2 separate regions of the Homo sapiens genome follow, and region 2 is linked to region 1. Evidence: promoter capture Hi-C in human tissues and cell types (Jung and others, 2019). All regions are on one chromosome and are shown on one strand. The core of a region is centred on a gene start or on the middle of the fragment in contact, and the rest is flanking DNA. Distances in the headings are between cores, read along the strand shown. Region 1 holds the start of NPAP1 (nuclear pore associated protein 1). Region 2 has its middle 52 kb from the start of NPAP1.

Region 1 (5,568 bases), core at 805-3,304:
CCATCAGGAGCCTCAAATTTGGGCTGAGGGGTGGCTTCTTTTCCAAAGAGTTGGTTAAAACTTGGGGTGGTATTGTGGAATATAAATGGAAGTGGGGATGTGTAGACTGATGTCTTTCCCGGGTGCCTCTGCTCTGCACTGCAATGTATTTGGGAATTTGGGAGAGAGCTCACTCTGGAGCTTAGGGAAGATGTGAAAATAACAACCTGAGATGGGGCAGTAGTATCCATATTAACTACTTCAGGGTCTACCGCAGTCTGTGAGGTTAGGTGGGCAGATGCGTTTGTTGTGACAGTGGAAATGACTGACGTGGAATTCATAGGCTTGCTGGTGATAACTGAGGTCCCGGTGGAAGGGACTGGAAGAAGAGTCAGGAAGGAAAGAGGAGGAGGGGAATCCACACACATAGATATTGGGGACTCCCTTGTGACGGGAGGCTTGAAGGAGGGTGTGGAGCTAGGAGGTGTTGGGGGGTCAGAAGTGAGAGGCGCTGCTCCTACGACTGAATTATAAGAGCCTCCTTTCTCATTAGACTGATCACCCAAAATGGGAACAAGGTCAGCAGGAAGAGCCAGAGGAGAGTTAGGGATTGTGAATGCTATTTTCTCATCCATTTTTGGTGTGGTGGAAAGTGGAGGGATAGGCAGGATGAGGGGTCCAGTAGCCAGGTCAGCCAAGTCAGGGATGGGCAAAGGAGCTGAGACCTGGGAAGTGTAAGTGGTCAGGGGCAGGGAGTCTGTGGTCTGCACAGGTTGGGAGAAAGAAGGGGCAGGCTGGGTGATGCTGCTGTTTGTCATGGTCTCTGTTTTATCCTCCAAGATTCTGCTATTCCTTTTATACTCAGGGCTCTTCTCCAAGGTGTGTAGGTCTCCCTCAACAGACAGGCAGGGGAGCTTAGCAGGTGGGGGAAGCTCACCTCGATCCCACAGCAATGGCAGTGAAGGGGGCAGCGGCAGCAGCAATGGAATCGACATTTTCCTTTTGCAGGGCCTGTTGCGGGCAGCTCTGGGAGGAGCAGCGCTCCTTGGAGGAATACAGAAAGGCTTCTCATCAGGCATCCTCTTTCCGGACATCAGCGGAATCGGCAAGCCTAGGGAGCTGGGCGGTGGCTCTTCATTCAGCACTTCCGCAGCCAACTTCTGCTGCAGCAGGGAGCAGCCAACGGCTGGCTCAGGGGGCGCTGTTGCATCCGGATCAGGCTTTCCAAGATGCCGGGCACATCCGGCCTGGCTGTGTGTGCTGGGCATGGCAGGGCCTTCCAAGCAGGAGCTCGCTGGAGACGCCTGGGCCTTCTCACTCATGCTGTTTTCTGAGAACTTGTGGTAGACATTTCCCTCCAGAGGCCCAGGGCTGCATCTGAAGGAGGCCACGTCTCCCTGGGTGCCCTGGGACCTGGATGTGGACGATGCTTCTCCGCTGCTAAGGGGGGTCCTTTTCTCGTCATCCTCCCCTTCGATCTGCACCGGATCCTCATCCTTCTTCACTCTTCTGGGCCCTTCTTGGGCCCACACCTCGGTCTCCTCCAGGAGAGTGGCTGGGATGGGCTTCCTGGCCTTGACCGCCGGCTCACGTGGTGAAGGCAGCAGGAGAGTGAACATGCGGCTGGGAGGAGGGATCCTTACGGAACTGGGGTGTCCAAACCTCGGGGGGTTCCGAGCAGGCAGCATGGGTGTCTTCCTGATGGCCAGCCCCCAACCCACAGCCGGCAGGACCCCCAGAGGGGCGGCCGCAGCCCGAGGGAGAGGACACGGCCTCTTAGGGGCGACGAAGATGCTGGCTGCTGAAGGCCTGCGACGGGCGTTCCGGCGGAACAGGCCGCGGAAAGGGCGCGGGGTGGGTACAGAGTGAGCCCGACCGGGCGGGGAGGCGTCCCGGGACAGGGGAGCGGGGGCGCCACGCCCTGGCCCTGGCAGGGGCCGGCGGCGGCACCCGGGTCTAAATTTACTAAGTAAATTGCCCATTTAGAGCTAGCCGTGCCTCCTACCGTAAAACAGGGTCAGCAGTGGACTCAACTCTCCTCAGCCACCGCCTCCTCTGGCGACCAAGCACAAACTGACTGGCTCTACGCCTGCGACGCCGCCGCGAGGTTCCTCACAGAACCAGGGAGCGCCAGCGGGGGCGCAAAAGGCAGGGGTCAGAGGGCAAAGGGCGACGCCCCGTCGGCCCCAGCTGCCCCAGGACCCCCGGAAGCCCCGCTGCCGGTGGCAGGTGTTGCACCGCGTGGCCTCTATGAGGGAACTGCTGGGGCCTGCGGGCCCATCGCCAGAGCTCTTGTCACCTGGGCGCCGGCTCTGCCTGTTCCTTAGCCCTGGCCCGGCGCTGTTGCACGCAGTGGCCCTGTGTCGGCCGTCCCCATTCCCCGGTTCACAGAGGGCACATCTGCTTCAAGTTAAGCACAGGACAACCTATATCCTGCCAGCCTCCTCTAGGACCTTGGCAGTGCTCTGTGCTGCCTGGAGCCAGGTGTGCCGTCTCTGTGGCGCCAGGGTCACCAGCCAGGCCGTGAGGGTTTCCGAGGAGGGGACGTGGTGCCTTGTCCTGACTAGATGCTACGCCCTACCACATCTCTTCCTGGCAGGCAGGGCCTCTTCACTTCTTTTCACAAATTTGTTTTAAACAACATTTAAGGCTGGGCGCGGTGGCTCACGCCTTTAATCCCAGCACTTTGGGAGGCCAAGGCGGGTGGATCACCTGAGGTCAGGAGTTCGAGACCAGCCTGACCACCATGGTGAAACCCCATCTCTACTAAAAATACAAAAATTAACTGAGCGTGGTGGCACGCACTTGTAATCCCAGCTACTAGGGAGGCTGAGGCAGGAGAATCGCTTGAAAGCGGGAGGTGGAGGTTGCAGTGAGCTGAGATCACCTCACTGCACTCCAGCCTGGGGGAACAGAGCAAAACTCTTGTCTCAAACAAAAACAAAAACAAAAAACCACAACAAACAACAGCAACAACATTTAAGCCTTAGGCTGCTTGCTCCTTGGGTCATTGATATGACAGTGGCCTAGCCAGGCTTCGAACCTGGGCTGTGTGATTCCAGAGCTGGTGCCGTGGCCTGTGTGCCTCCTTGTTATGGACACATCATGTATTCTCATTATTTCCTGTAGTCCTTAGGGTACCTAGCACACAGCACATCTGTATTAAGCACATGCGTTCCTAGGGGGAAGCCCTTACTTCACCTCATAAGTTGGTCATGGCAGGCACTGGGCTCCAGTCTCCTCTGAAGACATGGGGCAGCGACCCCCAATAGTCAGCAAAGCAGCATCCCACACTGTTCTTCTAATTGAGCCTTGCAGCCCAGATTTCCTTTTTGGTCTAGTTTGAAGGATCTAAATATGTAAAGATTATAGTCCAGATCCATTTTGGCCTATCCCGAAAGAAATTCACCAGTGGATTAATCCAAATGGATAAGCCAGTTCTCTGGCCTTCTTGGAATATGTTAGAAAGCAAATTCATCATGTATTTGCAAGTCAGTAGTGGAGCAATGTATTCGATTAAAATATGATCAATACAATTTGGTCATTGTCCGCATGCCAGCAAGGCCCACTCTTTACCACACATTACTGTCACCTAAGTATAACTATCCATATTCTTATGCCCAAGGAAGGAGACTTAATATTGGTTTTTAGGACAAAGGAAATATGTGTTACTGTTTTAAGAGCTGGAAGTTTCAGCATGACAAGAAAGATTTGGAAAATCCTACACATGACCTTATCTAGTTTTAATCTTGTTTCTTTGGTTTATTTAACTGGACTGCTTTGCTCTCTTTGGGCTAATGTTGTGTGCCAGACATAGGACATGTGGAAGGTTCAGAACCAAGAATCAGAGATCAGTAAAAATATTTTAATGTATTTTTTAGTTTAAAAATCGATTTAAAATAACATCAAACCTAGTTAACATACTACAAAATCCTTTTTATCCCCCTGTTCATATATTTTATACTATGTCAGAGTAAATGTGGGCTTCCATACCCAACAAAGCTTATGTTTCTAGGACACAAAGTTTTGCTCAGACCCAAATTCTGTTTAAAAAGAGGAGACATATTATAAGTCCTTCCTAACCTCTCAGGGAACCGAGAAATTGTTTACAATTATGGCATTTAACTGTAATCTCTTGATATCATTTGAGGAGAGTTTAATAAAAAATAATCTCTTGATTTTATTTGTTTAAACAAAAAGAACAATCTGGTACAAGTTTTGGACAAAGATTTCCTACAAGAACTCTGAAACAAAATCAAATGTCAGGCTTATTTGAAAACAATAAATTACAGCATTTTCCCCCAAACAGGAAAAATGCATTAAACAAATAATGAATATTGGGGCTTCAGGACAATAAAAGGAAATTTGGACAAGGGTATTCCAGAAAAATCCACCTCTTTATTTTTCTTGTCAAATGGGAATAGATGCTTTTTTTGAATATAAAATCTTCCTTGTGTTTGTGAGGCAAAATAACATTAGATGGCAACTGATTATTCTGAGATCTTTTGACTTGGCAGACGCAAACATGTTGAGATGAAATTTGTCAAGGCAAAATATTTTCCAAAAATTTAATTTAATAATTATATAAATACTGTGATAATAGCAACAATTTATAGTTGCCAGGTGAGATTACTTGTAATTTAATAATTTTTTAAAGCACCAATCTCCAGTCATATCAAATGAATCTCTGGGTGGCTAGCTTTGTATAGAATTGTGGTAGTGACAATAAACCATACCTAGCACCCTATAGTTGAACACTTTCACCAACAACCCACTGTAAGTCATACAGAGTTAATGTGAGGACACACTGAATCCTTTGGACTTTATTGACTCATGAACCTCATTAAATGAACTTTTTTCCCTAAAATAATTTCAGTCTCCTCTCTCGTGAAGAAAAGTTATCTGAAAAAGGAATGTGGAGGAAAGAGACTTTATTCCAGTGAACTGTTTGCATCCTCTGTTGCAAAACAAAGGTGCATTCCAGAAAACAAAGGGAAGACTTGGGTTTTATAGCAAAAGTTCGCTGTCCAGGTTCCCACATAAGTTTCTTTAGGCAAATGAAGGTTTGAAACTGGCTTAGTTCTGGCCCACTGTGGTGGCTCACATCTGTAATCCCAGCAGTTTGGGAAGCCCAGGTGAATGGATCACTTGAGATCAGGAGTTTGAGACCAGCCGGGGCAACACAGTGAAACCCTGTCTCTACTAAAACTACAAAAATAAATAAATAAATAAATAAATTGGCTGGGTGTGGTGGTGCACACCTGTAATCCCAGCTACTTCACTGGGTGAGGCGGCAGAGGTTGCAGTGAGCCAAGATCATGCCAATGCACTCCAGCCTGGGTGACAGAGTGAGACTCTGTCTCAAAAAAAAAAAAAAAAAAAAAAAAAAAGAAAAAGAGAAAGAAAGACATTGGCTTAGTTCCAATTGGCCAGTGCAGGTATAAACTCTAGTCAGCAAATGGCTGCTGGGCTGTATTTTAAATTTACGCCCAGTTAGCCACACAGGATTGATTTAGAAGAATTGGCTCTTTCAGATTCACATTTGTCCACACTCTTCCGCCCTTTACTGTAACCAGGGCTCAGCAAGGA
Region 2 (5,171 bases), core at 2,640-5,139, 50 kb before region 1:
TGCCTCTGGCTGATAAGAGGAAGAGGGAGGAGGAAAGAGGTCCAGTGTCTCTAAGCAGCAGCAACTCTCCTGGACAACCCCCACTGCAAAAAAAGCAGTCCTTTGTTGATCTTTTTTTTCCTTTTGAGTAAAATCTTTAGAATGGCTTGTATTTCTATGTGGCTAAAAATGACTTTTTGTTCCTCTCTGTCTTCAGATGTTTACCTGACAAGCTCCTGAGCACCTGGGAGTGTCAAGTAGCTTCTATTGTAAGCACGGGTCTCCCTTTTTGGTGCCCATTTCTTGGTCCTGCTGATTATCTTTGGTCATTTTGATTTGGTGGGTAGTGACCAGGACACCTGGGGACGAGGCTGCCTCCTCCCAGACTCATAAATGCTACCTCCCATTCCAGGGTGTCCCCACTGACCTCTGAGGGACCAGGGTCAACATGCAGCAGTGTGATCAATTAAAAAAAAATCATTATTAGAGTTGGCTCCTGAGCTCCAGGCTGCAGCTCTAGAGCTTTGCACAATGACTGGCAGTGGCATTGTGTACAGCCCAGGCAGCTTCCTTGGGAAATTTGTATTTATCTAAGCCCTGTTTGACATCATCTACTGTCTATGGTGGGGCAAGGACTGGCTGAGCAGGGCATTTGTATTTGCCCATCAGAGCCGTAGGCACATTGTTCCAGGAATTCGACTCATGATACCCTATGGGGTCGGGGTACGCGTGGCAACAGAAGCAAGGTGTGCAGCAACATAATTGGGCTTGCCTGGCAGCGTATCTCCCTGGTGATTCTGCCTCCTTCAGGAGTCAGGGCTTGCTTTACTTACCCTTTTTGCTGTCACAGCTTCAGTCCTGACATTGACACAGTGGGCCCAGCAGTTGGCTTCTCTAACCAGCACTATCTAGGGGACTCTCCTAGGCTCCCAGGAGGTAGAGTCCATGCCTGGCTTTGTCCAAAGAGTGGAGGTGAGCACTACCATCCTCTTGAGCGCTCCTTGGCGCGACTTTGTCTGTGTGCTGTGCACCAGCCAATTAATAACGTTCAGACTTTCCCCCAGGTCGTCTCTATGAGAGACTATCAGGAAACACACCTGCCTTGCACTGGACACCAGTGGTCAGACACCACAGGGGAATCTGTTTCACAGTGTTGACAGTTTTGTGTGAGAACACAGCAACACTGGCAATAGCATTTACATACCACTGGCAAGCAGTGCTGGCTTCCCAAAGTGACAGGGCCACGGGGGAGAGGCAGTTACTGAGCCATTTGCAGCTCATAGGCATCATGGAGGTGTACAACTGAGCCAACCGTCCCATCCTCACTGACTATTGTTTTGATATGCCCCAGCTAAGCTGGGGTTCCAGTATCAGAGAGGCTAGCCACCCTGCCCTGACAGTACATAATGGGGAACTGGATGTGGGTGTTTATACTGTGTCTTTCACAGGCTACTTCTCTTACCTGGTAGACGTTCTAACGCCTAGCTGTAAGACCTGTGACCAGGTGTCCCTTACATGGAAAACATTGATACTGGCAGACACCCTTGTGGCTCTTGTCTGACCTGTGTCCAGTTTATTCCTGCCTGACCATGGCTTTGATGTTGGGAGCTCAACCTGTGTTCTCCTTAGTGTCCTGGGGAAAATCTGGTCTAGGGTAGCCCCCAAAACAAATAAGTTCAAAGATTTTTACTTACAGATCCTGCCAGGAAGGGCACAATGAGTCAGGAGGGCAGTCCTCCATCCTACGGTCAGAGAGAGACAAAGAGAGAAAGAAAGCGAGGAGAGCGGCAGCTGGGGTATATATTAGGAAATAATGGGTATGTTACTTCAAGTTCACGGGCAAATGCCTGAATGGCATGTTTAAAGAAAGCAGCAGGAAGGTGGAAACTCAGCCTGCTAGGTGACAGAGATGCCTCTAAGTTCTTATCTCTGGCCACTAGTTTTAGCCATTTGGGTGTGGTGTTCTACTTCTAATGCCCAGGCAGCAACCTTTGTTGTGTTGTTGCTATTACACCTCCCTTTTAATGTTACGTGGGTCAGTTAACTTGTCTGTCTCTATGGGTTTGACTCACATCTCTTTTTACACGTCTTAATATTGCCTAGTAGAAACATACAGTTCGGAGTACACTTATGGTGGATTCATTGCACAAATGAACCAAAATGTCATCAAGAAACTAATAGGGACTAGATATTCCTTATGCCATGTGAAAACAAAAAATTCACAGGTATAGGAATCCATGGTTTGCAAATGCCTGAACATTTTTTTTTTTAAAAAAGGACAGTTATCCCTGAGAGATGAGAAATAGTGATGTGAGTCCTACTGTAGCCTTGGGTTATGGTTGAGTTTCCAGGCTGTGGGTGTGGCAAGGACCTTGGAAGACACTCGAGTTGAGAAGGTGGAACTGAGAGTCTGGAGAACAAGGTGGCTGAGTTTCATCAAGCCATTCTCCATGTCCAGTGCTAGGAAGGGGAAAGAGTATTCATGCCAGCTGCCATGAGATAGCTTTGCTATGTACCATCATCACTGATGTGGCACATGGATCAAAGAACTATGGAAAAAATCCAGACACAAGAAGAAGCCATTTGGGTGAACTTAGCCTTCAACAATTTTGTCTTATTCTTGACCACAAAAAGGCAACTTTATATGACACTGCCATCTTGCATTTTCCTGCAAGCAGTATGATGAAGTTCATATCTGCACAGTGAAGAAGTGGCTGGTGTCTGCATTTCTTGCAAGCAGTACAATGAAGTTCATATTTGTACAGTAAAGAAGTGACTGGTGTCTGCATTTAGATGATGTCTACATCTCAGTGTTCTGTCTATATAAGTTAATGCCTTTGTGAATCTCTCAAAATTAGAATAAGCTAGGCCATACAATGAAAACATTCAGAGCTCTTTTAAAGCAACAGGCTGTGGATACATTTTGCCTTGTGACTGCTAGACAAGTCTCTTCTTCACAACCAGAGGTATTTCAGAGGATATTTATGGCAAATACAGAGAATATGTACCATCTGTCTTCCCTAAAACAAGTGATATTTCCATTCAATTTAGGAAAGACTGATGCTTGAAAAGATGAAAATGATTAAAAAGCGATTTTGAAAAGTTATTACGGTAGCATTATTAAATACATTTTATGGTAGCATTATTAAATACAAAAGGCATTAATATATGCCTTTTGGTATGGTAGCATTATTAAATACATTTATGGTAGCATTATTAAATACAGAAGGCATTAATATACAATACAAAAATAAAACACTGTAGATAAAGTTTGTATGGCCAAAAAAAATTAATAAACAAATGTTAAAAATATTTTCAAATTTTAGGCATGGGCAAGGACTTCATGTCTAAAATAGCAAAAGCAATGGCAACAAAAGCCAAAATTGACAAATGGGATCTAATTAAACTAAAGAGCTTCTGCACAGCAAAAGAAACCACCATCAGAGTGAACAGGCAACCTACAGAATGGGAGAAAATTTTTGCAACCTACTCATCTGACAAAGGGCTAATATCCAGAATCTACAATGAACTCAAACAAATTTACAAGAAAAAAACAAACAACCCCGTCAAAAAGTGGGTGAAGGATATGAACAGACACTTCTCAAAAGAAGACTTTTATGCAGCCAAAAAACACATGAAAAAATGCTCATCATCACTGGCCATCAGAGAAATGCAAATCAAAACCACAATGAGATACCATCTCACACCAGTTGGAATGGCAATCATTAAAAAGTCAGGAAACAACAGGTGCTGGAGAGGATGTGGAGAAATAGGAACACTTTTACACTGTTGGTGGGACTGTAAACTAGTTCGACCATTGTGGAAGTCGGTGTGGCGATTCCTCAGGGATCTAGAACTAGAAATACCATTTGACCCAGCCATCCCATTACTGGGTATATACCCAAAGGATTATAAATCATGCTGCTATAAAGACACATGCACATGTATGTTTATTGCAGCACTATTCACAATAGCAAAGACTTGGAACCAACCCAAATGTCCAACAATGATAGACTGGATTAAGAAAATGTGGCACATATACACCATGGAATACTATGCAGCCATAACAAATGATGAGTTCATGTCCTTTGTAGGGACATGGATGAAGCTGGAAACCATCATTCTCAGCAAACTATCGAAAGGACAAAAAACCAACACCGCATGTTCTCACTCATAGGTGGGAATTGAACAATGAGCATGCAGGGACACAGGAAGGGGAACATCACACACCAGGGCCTGTTGTGTGGTGGGGGGAGGGGGGAGGGATAGCATTAGGAGATATACCTAATGCTAAATGACGAGTTAATGGGTGCAGCACACCAACATGGCACATGTATACATATGCAACAAACCTGCACGTTGTGCACATGTACCCTAAAGCTTAAAGTATAATAATAATAATAAAAAGAACTAATATAATATTACAAGGCAAGGTGTGAAGCAGTAATGTTTCCTTGGTCAGTAAGCAGAATGGTTTTGGAACAAACTTTTGCTTTATACCAAAGGGCTGACTTCCCCAACTGAACCCAAAGGGAGGGAAGGAAGCAGCTGGACATGCAGACCCTACCTAGAGGATCTGGGCTTAGCTGCACAGGCTGTGGCCCTGTCCTTGGCGGACATTGTCTGGAGAAGGAAGATCTTGGCCACTGTGTTGTCTCTACTTGTCCAGGAGGATTCAGGGGTACCTTTCTTGGTTCTTGCCATGCCTGGCTGTCACTGGGGAGCCTTTAGGAAATTCCCTAGGGCTCCAGAAAAGCAGAAAAGGAAAATGAAGATGGGTGAGGGTGACATCAAATAAAATTAACTGAGAATGTTCTAAAATATAGGGTGAGTGGAGTTGGAAGGATTGCCTAAGATTTACAAGGGCATTAGAGACATAAGTGTCAACAGCAATGTTCTAAAATCCTAAACCCTACTCTTTATTGGAGGCACAGCTGGGAATATTTGTGTAGGTACAAGACATGCAGTTTTCACTCTTCTCTGTCTTCATTACAGAACAGCACAGTGATGAAGAGACAGGGCTCTGGATGGAAAATACTTGTGTTAAGTGAAGTCTTTCATTAACTAAGACAGTGGCATTTGCACAAAGGGAAATAAGTAAATGAAAAAGAGAAAAGAGAACTGAATAAAGGCATGTGCATATACAAACAAGTGAATTATACATAAGACCAATGGGGGAAAATAACATTTTG

Evidence for each region. The method cuts DNA at HindIII sites, captures the fragments that hold promoters and counts their contacts. A contact is called where the count stands out against the background at its distance.
Region 2: a fragment that was not itself captured here is called in contact with the fragment with the promoter of NPAP1 in region 1 in 4 of the 25 tissues and cell types used here (dorsolateral prefrontal cortex, mesenchymal stem cells, pancreas and 1 more).

The regions. Positions count from the first base shown.
Region 1 is chr15:24,672,261-24,677,828 of GRCh38, reverse strand. NPAP1 (nuclear pore associated protein 1) reads right to left here and starts at 2,054. Exons shown (of 1, transcript NM_018958.3): 1 at 1-2,054. The coding sequence starts at 1,961. The HindIII fragment of the contact is 8,790 bases long and covers 1-5,568 here.
Region 2 is chr15:24,724,778-24,729,948 of GRCh38, reverse strand. No RefSeq gene overlaps it. Among named protein-coding and RNA genes, the nearest start is that of NPAP1, 52 kb to the right of the region's middle. The HindIII fragment of the contact is 3,912 bases long and covers 1,934-5,171 here.